Regions from separate parts of the Homo sapiens genome. Here all the other regions are linked to region 2. The links are contacts of gene promoters, found by promoter capture Hi-C in blood cells and fetal thymus (Javierre and others, 2016). All regions are on one chromosome and are shown on one strand. Each heading gives the region's core, a stretch centred on a gene start or on the middle of the fragment in contact. The rest is flanking DNA. Distances are from core to core; before and after follow the strand shown. Region 1 overlaps ZBTB40 (zinc finger and BTB domain containing 40). Region 2 holds the start of WNT4 (Wnt family member 4). Region 3 holds the start of EPHA8 (EPH receptor A8). Region 4 overlaps EPHA8 (EPH receptor A8).

Region 1 (2,848 bases), core at 124-2,623, 370 kb after region 2:
TGATCTCACACATGACAAGTTTAGCCCCTGGAGAAAGAGAGGTAAGAGAGGGAGAGAAACAGAGGGAGGGGAGGGTAAAATGAGAAAGAAGGAAAAAATATGAATACACACACACATTTATATTTTCTGTAAATATACATATGTAGCCATGTTGAGAATTGCTAAGTAGAGGAGAAATAGAAGGTATCTCAGTTTCTAAGGTGGAATAACAAATAGAATAGTTCTAATTTCTGTGGTAATAAGGAAAGGCATTCAAAAGGAGAAATGAAGAACTTTGTCATGTATAAGAAATCTCTCAGACTGAGAGGTGAGGATGTTGAAAAACTCCTTCCCCAAACATATTCACTGTAACCCAATATCTAGACTTGCAGCTCTGCAGCTGGGCTAGTGGCTGGAGAGTCTCTTACGTGAGTGTTTGTGTTACATCTTGAAGGTCATGGAGAAGCTTGTGAAACGTGACTCTGGTTCAGGTGGTTTCAATTCTCTGATATCAGCAGTTCTAGAAAAGCAGACTCTCTCTGCCACAGCCATTTGGCAACTGCTGCTGGTGGTTCAGGAGACAAAGACCTGTCCATTGGACCTGCTCATGGAGGAAATACGAAGGGAGCCTGGTGCCGATGCTTTCTTCCGGGCAGGTAAGTTACCTGCCCTCTGGGGGGGTTTTGCCCCCACTAGAGATGACTGTCAGTCTTCCTAGAAAATAGGAAGAGCTCTCTTAACGGTAGTCACCTACATCCCTACTATTAGAAGTAAGGACTGGCAGTTTTGTTCAAGGACACAAGAGTTTGTAAACCTTTTAAAAAATAGATCCAGTAATTATCTTAAGCTTACATTCATTATTATACTCTGATTACAGTGCTATTTGCCGTTTTCCCCACTGCCAACCTCAGATAGGAGATAGGGGAAATGCATTTTCATTATGAAGAGTTGAGTGGAGGAAGGGTGTAGGAAAAAATGGTGCTCATTGTTTGCCTAATGAGTTTTTGATCCCCCTTTTTTTCAGTGACCACCCCAGAACATGCCACTTTAGAAACAATCCTGAGGCATAACCAGTTGATCTTGGAGGCCATCCAACAGAAGATTGAGTACAAGCTCTTTACCTCGGAGGAGGAGCACCTGGCAGAGACTGTGAAAGAGGTGTGGTGGGAATAAAAAGCGAAATGCCAGAGAGTTTTACAGTTGTTGCCTGGGACTGTCTTCATTCCTAAGAGAGGAACCAATAGTTGGTTGGGTTGTTTTTCCTTCTTTTTTTTTCCTTTTTCTCTTTTGAGACAGAGTCTTGCTCTGTCGCCCAGGCTGCAGTGCAGTGGCACGATCTTGGCTCATGGCAACCTCTGCCTTCCGGGTTCAAGCGATTCTCCTGCCTCAGCCTCCCAAGTAACTGGGATTACAGGTGCGCACCACCGTGCCCTGCTAATTTTTTGTATTTTTAGTGGAGACGGGGTTTCGCCATGTTGGCCAGGCTGGTCTCGAACTCCTGGCCTCAAGTGATTCACCCATCTCAGCTTTGCCAGAGTGCTGGGATTACAGGCGTGAGCCACTGTGCCTGGCCAGAACCAATATCTGTACCCCTTGCTAGGCTAATGCTTCCTAACACGTTTGCTCTTTTAATCCTTCCAGCTCTACATGGCAGGTGATGTTATCACATTTTATAGACAAGGGTTCTCAGGCCCCAAAGGGTTAAGTTACCTGTCTAAAATGCTCTGGCAGGGAGGAGATGATGTCAGGATTTGAACCCAGCTTCCTATGACTCAAACCAATTTATTCCATTTATCTAAACCTGGTATCCCCTGGAGCCATGATACTGTTCTCTTACCTGTTCTAAGAAGCAGCTTCTCTCAGATGAAGGAAAGTAAAACTGGTCTTATTACATGTTCTATTCTGGCTTCTAGAAAGAGCCAAGATAAACATAGATAAAACAAAGCTTTTGCCCATATTGGGTAGCAAATAGTGCCAGCTCATTTTCTGTAAGCCTTCACACAATGTGGCCAGCATCCCAGGAATACCAAGTGGGGACTGGGGGAACTCATGGGTGTCCAGCCCAGGATCATTTGCATCCTGAGTGGGGAAGAACAAGAAAGGAACATGAAATTAAACTACAGATTCAAATGTAGTGCCCTTTTGATTCAGGTAGGTGTGGAAGGTGTGCAGAAGGGCGGGTTTCTAACTCTCTCTGTGCAGGTGACAGCCACATGTTGGTCTGACTCAGATGGGAAGAAGATGGCACACATTTCTGTGGGGCTTCAGAGGAAAGACTCATCTGTTAGACTCTCTCCAGCACGCCGTAACTTCAGAGATGGGGCTTCTGCAGTTGATCAGTTTTAGCCTCACTAATTAGTCTCATGCCTGCCTCCAGGGACATCAGGTTTATTTAGATAGACTTGAAAAGAGCAGAAATAAAATATCTTCCAAAATGAAAATTCCGTTTGGCCATCTGTGGATGGTTTAGCTTTATTTTCTCAGTGTACCGACTCTTTCTGCTGATAGCTCTAACATTCTGAAAGAGGACGACGGCTTTGAAATAATATTCTTGGACTCTTTAAAGCTTCTATTTGAACCTTCTTTAAAACGCTGAGTTTCTTTGTGAAAGAAAATGACGTTTAAATGGGTACATCTAAGTATCTAAAAATATGAAGCCACTGATCATGCAGAATTACTTCCAGACATTGAGACAATTATATATTATGAAAACTTATTCTGATTTTCAAGACAGACACACCGACGACCAAATCCTATAGCTTTTCAAGCTTTTAGTATTAAGATCCAGAAAAGGTCTTTGGGAGACTCCTAGTTTCTGATAAGCTATTTCTTATAGAAAATGCTTTATGCTTCCCTGCATGTATCTTCT
Region 2 (2,938 bases), core at 313-2,812:
TGCTCCTGAAGTGTTAATCAAATTAAGGCTCCAAGAAAAACAAAAGCTCCGCAGCCACTTCGGGCTGCCTTGGAGTCGTTTGCTCTCGGAACAGCTGGGAGAATTCCACATCACCTCCGTCCCCCAAGCCCTGGGTGGCTCTGACCCCAACGAACACACTCCTTCCAGCCTGGAGGGCTCTGGCTGGCCACAATGACCTCATAGCAACAGCCATTGGACACTCGGGGCAATTTCATGGGAGATATTTGTTCTTTGGTCTTGATGCAGAGAGAATTTTTTCCTCTCTCCCTGTCTCCATGGAAACCCCAGCTACACTGTTGGCGATCCCCCTTCCCACCCCATGCTTTTCAGATCAATATTGGAGCTTGGCTCCCCACTGGCTGCCCACAGCGGATGGTGGCAGAGCTCTGGGCAGGAGGAACTGGGGCCAGGGTTAAGCGCGGGGCATGGGGAACTGTCCCTGAGCGGGGATGAAAGGAGCGCGGGTCCGCTTGCTCCCTGTCCACCCACTCACTGGAGCTCATCCCTTTAGTCTCCCTCCCTGCAGCAAACCTTCCGCCCCTACCCAGGGAGCGCCCTGAGCGCAGATCCAGTCAAGGAGAAACAGACAGGTCACCAGCGGTTACCACCCCTTCCTCCTTAGGCTAGACACGGGGAGCTGGGGGGCCGTTGTCTTCTTTAAGGTCTGGACGGAGTTTCTTCCTGCCCCGGGGAAAAACCAAGGCCCGGCCAGCGCCAGCGCCAGCCCCGGGCCCTGGGAGACCAGGCGTCCTGGTCCCTTCCTTCTGTCTCCGGCTCCCGCCCCCCAAGCAGAAACAGGTCCCTGCACGCCTCCAGCCCAGCCCGCAGCGCGGCGCAGCTCGGCGCAGCTCGGCGCTGGGAGCTCGCTCCGGACTTCTCGGGATTAACCTGCTATTATGTCCCGGAGCCCTTCCCTGCAATGGGCTTCCTCAGCGACCTGTCAGCCCGGCTGGACTGCAACCCGCGTCCGGCGCCCCTCCCGGGCCACCGCCCCGCGCTCGCACCCCTGGCGCCCTCGAGAGCCCCGAGCCGCCTACCGGTGCGGACGCCGCCACAGCCACCCCTGACGCCTCTGGGCAGGGAGCCGGACCCGGGCAGGAGGGGACCCCGGGTGTGCAGAGGGACGTTCGGGCCGTGGCGGCGGCAGCGGAGCGAGCGAGCCTCCGGTCCCGCGGCCGAGACACCTGCCGGGCTGCCCCGCGCCCGCTGCCCCGCGCCGCCTGGCACCGGCCGCTGCCCCCGGGGCCTGCCCCGCCCCGCCCCGCCCCGCTCGGCCCCGGCCAGACTTACAGCCAGTTGCTCGCGGCGGCTGAGAAGACGGCGAAGACGAGGAGGCGCAGCGAACGCAGGCACGAGCGGGGACTCATGGTGCCGCCGCGGGCGCCCGGCCCGGGGCAGCGGCTGCGGCCGCGGGGGGCCTCCCGTCGGGGCTGCAGGTGGGCGCCCGCGGGCGGGCCGGGGCGCGCGCGGCGGGGCTCTGCCTCCGTGTGCCTGCCGGCAGCCTGCCCGCTGCTGCGCCCGCTGCCCGGCGCGGACCAGACTGTCAGCGCCGCCCCAGAGCCGGGATGCGGCGGCGGCGGCGGCGGCGGCGGCGGCGGAGGCGGGCGGGCGGGCGGGCGGCCGGGGGGGCGGGCCGGGGGCGGGCCGAGGATGGGGTTACCTGGGCGGGCCCAGCGGCCCGGGACACCCCCCCGGGGGCGGGCCGGAGCGGCGGCGGCTGCCGCCTTAGCCCGCGGGACTGGGCTGCTCCCGGGGCCTCCCCGGCTGGGCGCTCCGGAGGACTTGGGGCCCGAGCCCGCTCCAGGCACGCCTGGCTGCGCGCCGCCGAGCCCGGCCCGGCTAGAGGCGCGGCGACCCAGCTGCCCGGCCGCCGCCCGGGCCTAGGGGACAGGCGGGCACAGCTCCCCCAACCCGCCGCTGCGGGCACTGCAGCGCGGCCCTCGCTGTCCCCCTACCCCCCCCACCGCCCCCCGCCGGCGCCTGGAGCCCAGACCCCGGTCCGACCGCGGCGGACCCACCGGAGCGCGGCTACCACTCGCGCGCACCCAGGCGCTGGCGCTCCGGGTGCCTGGGGCTGCACATCGGGGCGCTGGATGTCTCCCGACCGCCCCCCGCCCGGCCCCTCCCTGCCTCCTGGCCCCCGCGTCCTGCGGCCCAGCCCCTCCCTGGCGCTCACCTCCCTACAGCCTTCCGGGAGCTGGACGGGGCCTCCCCAGCTTTGGGCAGCTTGGGACAGTGGCCCGAGACTGTGGGAATCCGAAACCTCGCTTCTGGCTAGCCACAAGGTCTGGGCGCGCCCCAGGCAGCAGGGTCTTGACTCTGAGCCTCCGTTTTCTCATCCGGGAAGTGGGCTTAAGACGCTGTGATTGGGAGGACAGGAGGAGTTTAGGGAAGCTCTCTTGGCTCACTCACCAAGTCTTACTTTGCATTTGGTTTTCTATGTGCTTGTTCGATTTATCCTCCCATACTAGGCAGATTCAGCCTCTTGTTTGTTTTGGGCACAGGGCGGTGCCTGCCATGTTTGTGGAAGGAATAAATGAATGGAATGGAATGGGCTGCAACAGCCTGTGCTTGGCTAGTCCAGAGAGCTCAATTCCACATCACTGTAACCCCTAAGAATTGTCTGCCCAAGTCCACGCCACACCCTCTCAGGTCACTGATCTGATTCTGTGTGCTACTCATCCTCCAGGCTGCATCCCCCAGCTGCTCACAGGTAGAGGGACCTCTTATCTAAACAGTAAAACTAAGGCCCGGAAAGGGAGGCACCTGTCCCACCTCCCTAGGGGTTGGGAACAGAGGCAAGGACCAGGTCTATGCCCTCACCCCCTGATCTTAGTTCTTCACTGATTTTGGAGTATGAAGTTTGCTCCCACAGAGGCCATCATGTTTGGGTGCTGGGATGGTGCCCTGGGGTCCC
Region 3 (2,700 bases), core at 11-2,510, 420 kb after region 2:
TCCTTAGGTGTGCCAGCCCTGCAAGGCTGTGTGAGGCTTAAACTGGAGCGAGTTTATAAAGCCCCTAGAGCAGGGTCTGACTCAGGGCACATGTTCCCCAAATGGCCTTTCTCATCCTATGTAACTTCCAGCCATGGCTCCAATTCTCCTCACCCCCCAGTGACCATGAGAGCTGGGAACGAAGGAAGAGGGGACTGGACGATGGTCTGTGCCAGGCGGCAGTGGGAAGCAATCAGGCACTTGCTCCCGTGGGCATCCACCCTCTCAGGAGGCTGCAGGTCTCTTGCCTGCTTCTCGGACTGCTTGGCCCACCAGGTGTGTGAGGGACTTGAGGGTGGCAGAGCAGGCCCCAGGATGCAGCCCTATATCCCTGTCCTCCCCTCACAGCCCAAAGCCATCCCTGGATGAGACCCCTAGTCCTGGGGGATGGAACTGGAGACAGGGAAGGTCAGGGGAGGGAAAAGCAGGGAATGATAGTCCCCCTCACTGGATAACAGCTCCCATGACCGGCCACCTGGCTGTGTGCCCGGCCGTCTGCCAGGAGTTCCACCTGGGCCCTTTCACGCCACCCTAGGATATCGATACTGGTATTCTTGTTTTACAGACATGAAGTTTTAGACTCAGAGAGCTTAAGAAACTTGCCTAAGGCCACACAGCAGGACACTTGTCTTCCTGGTCCCTGAGCCTGCCCTCCTGACCACTGCAATCTAAGGCCTCCTTAAAATCCCGTGGTCCCTAAATGCCAAGTTGTTGGGGTGGGGAAAGGGAGAGAGTTTTGGTTTTGGTGTTTTTTTGGTTTTTCACCTAAAAGTGCCTCTGAGTTTGCCGCTGAGCCCATCTCTGAGCCTCTGCCCATGAACTAGTGTGTATCCATCGGAGTGTGTCACCACGCGAAGCACTCGGTGTTGGGGTCATGCGGGCAGGAGCGAGCATGCGGTGGATGTGCGGCCCGCGCGTGTGTCCACAGAGGGAATCCCTGGGTGGGTCTGGTCCTGGTGTCGCCGGGACGTCCCGATGGTGGCTTCGCGCACTGGGGCCCTGAGCCCTGAGTCCAAGTGCGCAGCGCGGGGCGCGCCCCCGAAGGTGCCCGCCGGGGGAGTGTGGGCGTGCGCACGTGCGGCGGCGGTGGCCGCGGGCCGGGTGGCCGCGGTGCGGGCTCCGTGTCCCCCACCCCCCCGCCTCGGTGCTGATTGGCTCGGCGCCGTGACGGGCCGGCCCCCGCCCGGGGCGGCGGCGGCGGCGGCGGGCGCGGGTGCCCGCGTGTGCGCTGGGAGCCGCGTGTGCGCCGGGGTGTGCGCCCGGCCGGGTGTGCGGAGAGCGAGGGAGCGCGCTCCCTCCCGACGCGCGGGCCGCAGCGGCCAAGCCCGAGGGTGCGTGGCGCCCCCGCCCGCCCGGCCCGGCCCGGCCATGGCCCCCGCCCGGGGCCGCCTGCCCCCTGCGCTCTGGGTCGTCACGGCCGCGGCGGCGGCGGCCACCTGCGTGTCCGCGGCGCGCGGCGAAGGTGAGCGGCGGCGGCGGGGCGGGGCAGGGGCGGCCGAGGGGCGCGGGGCGCGGCGCGCGCTGCCTGCGGCTCAACTTCCTTTGCATGGACCCTGAGCTCCAAGGCGGCCGGGATCCCTCGGCCCGGGGGGCGGGGTGGCACCGCGGAAGAGACCCGGGATTAAGGGACAGAGCGGTGGAGATGGGAACCCGCGAGCTTGAGGAAGACGGACAGGTACCGGGGACTGGGGGACAGTGGGAAAGGACAGGAGACAGGACTGAGGGATGTGCAGCTGGGGACAGAATACTGAGGGTCGGACGCCGGGGACAAGGGGACAGGACTGGACAGAAGACAAGAGAAGAGGTAAGGAGGAGAGGGTACAGTGAGGTAGGGCAAGGAACAGGGTTGGGGACAGAGGACAGGGGGGTAGGCACTGGGGTTGGAGGGACAGGAGAATGGGGGAGGAGGTTCAGAGGGCAGAAGGCAAAGGGGGTGGGGACAGCATTGAGAGATAGGAGCCAGGCGCTGAGAAACGGGACCCCGGAGAGCAGGACTGGCTTTGAGGGGAGGCAGGAAGGAGGGGTGCGGAATGAGAGTCTGGGAGAGGGGTCAGGGCCCGAGGGCCACAGTCTGGCGACGGGCTGGGGAGAAGAAGGGAGGGCAGGGGAGTTCCAGCTGGAGGAGAGGCAGCTTCGTGGGCAGCGGGAGCGGCTTGGGGAGGAGAGGGCTGGGGGATGGGGAGGCCACAGAGAGATTGAGGCAGGCAGGCCCCGGAGAGCAAAGTCTTGTCAGAGAAGGCTGGGATGGCAGGGTCACTCTGGGGCCCTGTGTGGGAGGAAGGATTGGGGTGGGGAGGTGCACTGAGTCGTTGGGACCAAAAAGGTCTGGGAAATGACTTCTGGTGGTGGGGGCACAAGAAGAGCTGAGAGGGAGCACCTAAGCCTGCCACCCACACACCCGTTAGCTCCCTGGAGACCCCAGCTCCATCCAGCTCAGGAGGTTTCCCTGGGTCCCACTCCCCACACCCCAACCCCTGCCCTGACCCTCCTCTGTTCCCACAGCTCTGCCCCAAGGAAGCCAGAGCGTCTCTGTGCAGGCTCCCAGGGCTGATGTCCAGGGACCAGAGCTGGGTCCTCACCCTGCCAAGATGAACTTCCAGGTGTAAGCGAACTCCGGAGCTGGTGCTGCTCTTCCACGCCCAGACAGATCACACATCTGCC
Region 4 (2,700 bases), core at 21-2,520, 450 kb after region 2:
GGGAGAGCAAGAGAAGTTCACAGCATTCAGGCAGCATCCGGGATGCCCCAACATTAAAGAGGAAACTAGACCCTGCCTTGAACCTGCCTTCCCCTCCGGTCACCAGACCATTTCTCTTCCCATACGACCCTCTCTGTCCGTGCCTGGCGTATCTACTTCTTCCTCTCCTCTGCGGGACTTCTCCATGTCTTTCCTCACCTCTTCACAGAAATCAGCAGCCCTGCGTGGCCACATCCATGGGCGCCTCTTCCCCCTTTCATTTCCTCCTCCTGGAAACACTTTTCTCTTGCTCGTGTGTCCCAGCCCACGCCCATTTTCCATTGACCTGTGTGGCCTGTCCCTCTCTGTCTTTGTAGCCCCACCTCCTTTAAATGGCCTCTAAAGGCCATGGGTCCCTGGGAATGTCCTGGGCCCTCCTCTCTTTCCTGTGTGCCCAGATCCATCTTTTCTGGGCGGCTGTTTCAGGGCCCATGACTTTGAATTCCACCTTTGTGCTAACAACCCCCAACTCGCGGTCACCAGCGAAGACCTCTCCCCTAGGACCCAGCTGCCCACTCCTGTCTCCATTCGGTTATGTGAAAAACAAACAACCCTGCCACACCTGCACCTGCCCCGCCCTAGGACATGGCACCTCCAGACCCAAGCTGTCATCCTTGACTCTCATGCATGTCACATCCATCCCCCCCTAAAGCCCCAGGGACCTCCCTTCAAAATGACCAACTGACTTCCACCCCCCACGAGTCCATGCCTGGACCACCACAGGAGACCCCTCTTGCCTCACCCCCACAAGACATTCTCCACACCAGTCCTGAGTGAGCTTTAAAAATAGAAGTGAGGGCTGGGTGTGGTGGCTCACGCCTGTAATCCCAGCATTTTGGGAGGCCAAGGCGGGAGGATCACTTGAGGCCAGGAGTTTGAGATCAGCCTGGGCAACATGGCAAGACCCCATCTCTACAAAAAAAATTTTTTTTGAGACAATGTCTCTATCTGTCACCCATGCTGGAGTGTGGTGGCACAATCACGGCTCACTGCAGTCTTGATCTCCGGAGCCCAAGTGATCCTCCCACCTCAGCCTCCCAAGTAGCTGACCAAGGGCACACACCACCATGCCCAGTGATTTTTTTTTTTTTGTAGAGATGGGGTCTCCCTATATTTCCCAGGCTGATCTGAAACTCCTGGGCTCAAGTGATCCTCCTGCCTCAGCCTCCCACAGTACTGGGATTACAGGCATGAGCCACCATGCCCAGCACCACCGCCCCCCAAGTTTTTTAGATGAAAATACATGAGAACAAGCTGTCCTCAAAGCCCTTCACAGCCTAGGCTGAGCGCACATGCAATTCAGACATTCTCATGGCCTGTGGACCCACACAGCTTCACCCCTGCCTGCCTCTCCAGAGCACCTCTTTCCCTGGCTCACTCTCTTCTGGCCATGATGGTCTCCGGTGCCCCCTCCTTGAACACACTGGGTCTTTCCCTGCTGCTAGGCCGTGGCCTGGCTTCTCCTTCGGAATGACTCACTCTTCCCCTGACATTCCTATGCCTGGCTCCTCTGCCCTGGAAGCTCCCCCGACCACCTCAGCTGAAACGTGCCAGTGCCCTTCCGGGCCCTGCAGTGGTCTTCTCCATCACAGACAGCACCCCTTCCTACCTTTCCCAGCACCAAAAGAACCCCCATTCTCCTGTTTATTGGACGCCCTGTCTCCTTTCCTGGGACAGAAGCTCCTAGAGGGATGTCTTGGGCACTGCAGAGTTCCCGGCTCCTAGCCCCGTGCCCAGCATGTGATAGGCACTCAGGAGTCCTAGAGGATCAAGCGACAGCTCTAAGCAAATGTGGAGGACTGTGCTCAAAGACCACCTGCCCCTCCTGCCTCACCATCACCACTTCTCTACAACCAACTCCTCCCTGGAGCCCTCTCGGACGCGAACCCCATTCCCCTCCCGCTCTGGGCCCTGGTCTCACTCTGTCTGCCCCCATCCCACAGCACCTCCTGCCTTGGTTTTTAAGAGACACACCCTGTGTGTCCCTTGCAAACAGTGGCCTCATCGAATCCTCCCCTCCCCCTGGCAAGTGGTGCTCACTAGCTTCACTTTATAGAAGGGGACCTGGTGTCCGCAGACAGCAAGTGACTCACCCAGGGTCCCAGCTAGCAAGAGAGGGAGCCAAGTCCCGAACCCACGCCTGGCTCCCAGACTGGTGGGCTTTCCCCTGGACCACACCCTTCCAGTGCAACTCTGGAGCTGCTTCTTAATTTCTCATGCCAGAATCCTCAGCAGCATTTATTGGGCACCTACTGTGTGCAGTCCCTGCCCCCAGGGAGCTCCCGGTTGTGCTGGGGATGCCCAGACATGAGGGAAGACTTAGTCACATAGGGCAGAGAGTCAGAACTCGGGGTGAGCAGAGGGGAGGAGGAGGCCTGAGGGCTGGAGGGGCAGGGAGGACAGGGCAGTTCCCTCTGTTTGGCTGTGGCGTGGCTGTGTCTGACACCTCCTAGCAGCCTCCCCACAGGGCTGACCGCACCTGAGCCAGGAGGGAGAGATGCATGAAGAAAGGCATGGGTGACGCCGTCAAGGAGGGAGGGGTGGGCGGGCAACCAAGTGTGACTGGGAGAATACTTGGGGCTCAGCTCACCCCCTTCCCTCAGCATCCAGAACTGTCCCAGGTATGCCCTCCAAACCCAGGCAGTGAGGGGCCAGTTCCTC

What was found. Contacts are between HindIII fragments. The CHiCAGO score rates a contact against its expected background, and 5 or more counts as called.
Region 1: a contact is called between a fragment that was not itself captured here and the fragment with the promoter of WNT4 in region 2, in 1 of 17 cell types (endothelial precursors). The highest score is 5.7, in endothelial precursors.
Region 3: a contact is called between the fragment with the promoter of EPHA8 here and the fragment with the promoter of WNT4 in region 2, in 3 of 17 cell types (erythroblasts, total CD4 T cells and M1 macrophages). The highest score is 7.6, in erythroblasts.
Region 4: a fragment that was not itself captured here is called in contact with the fragment with the promoter of WNT4 in region 2 in 1 of 17 cell types (M2 macrophages); the score reaches 5.5 in M2 macrophages.

What each region holds. Positions count from the first base shown.
Region 1 is chr1:22,508,097-22,510,944 of GRCh38, forward strand. It overlaps ZBTB40 (zinc finger and BTB domain containing 40), which reads left to right. Exons shown (of 18, transcript NM_014870.4): 7 at 1-41; 8 at 434-635; 9 at 1,004-1,137. Among named protein-coding and RNA genes, the nearest start is that of EPHA8, 54 kb to the right of the region's middle. The HindIII fragment of the contact is 1,098 bases long and covers 825-1,922 here.
Region 2 is chr1:22,141,535-22,144,472 of GRCh38, forward strand. WNT4 (Wnt family member 4) reads right to left here and starts at 1,563. Exons shown (of 5, transcript NM_030761.5): 1 at 1,312-1,563. The coding sequence starts at 1,388. The region is part of intron 1 of LOC105376845 (a long non-coding RNA gene); the gene reads left to right. RefSeq lists silencers at 1,031-1,090, 1,653-1,982. The HindIII fragment of the contact is 11,467 bases long and covers 1-2,938 here.
Region 3 is chr1:22,562,229-22,564,928 of GRCh38, forward strand. EPHA8 (EPH receptor A8) reads left to right here and starts at 1,261. Exons shown (of 17, transcript NM_020526.5): 1 at 1,261-1,501. The coding sequence starts at 1,408. RefSeq lists an enhancer at 1,799-2,299. The HindIII fragment of the contact is 15,431 bases long and covers 1-2,700 here.
Region 4 is chr1:22,590,272-22,592,971 of GRCh38, forward strand. All of the region lies in intron 5 of EPHA8 (EPH receptor A8), which reads left to right. Among named protein-coding and RNA genes, the nearest start is that of EPHA8, 28 kb to the left of the region's middle. The HindIII fragment of the contact is 6,999 bases long and covers 1-2,700 here.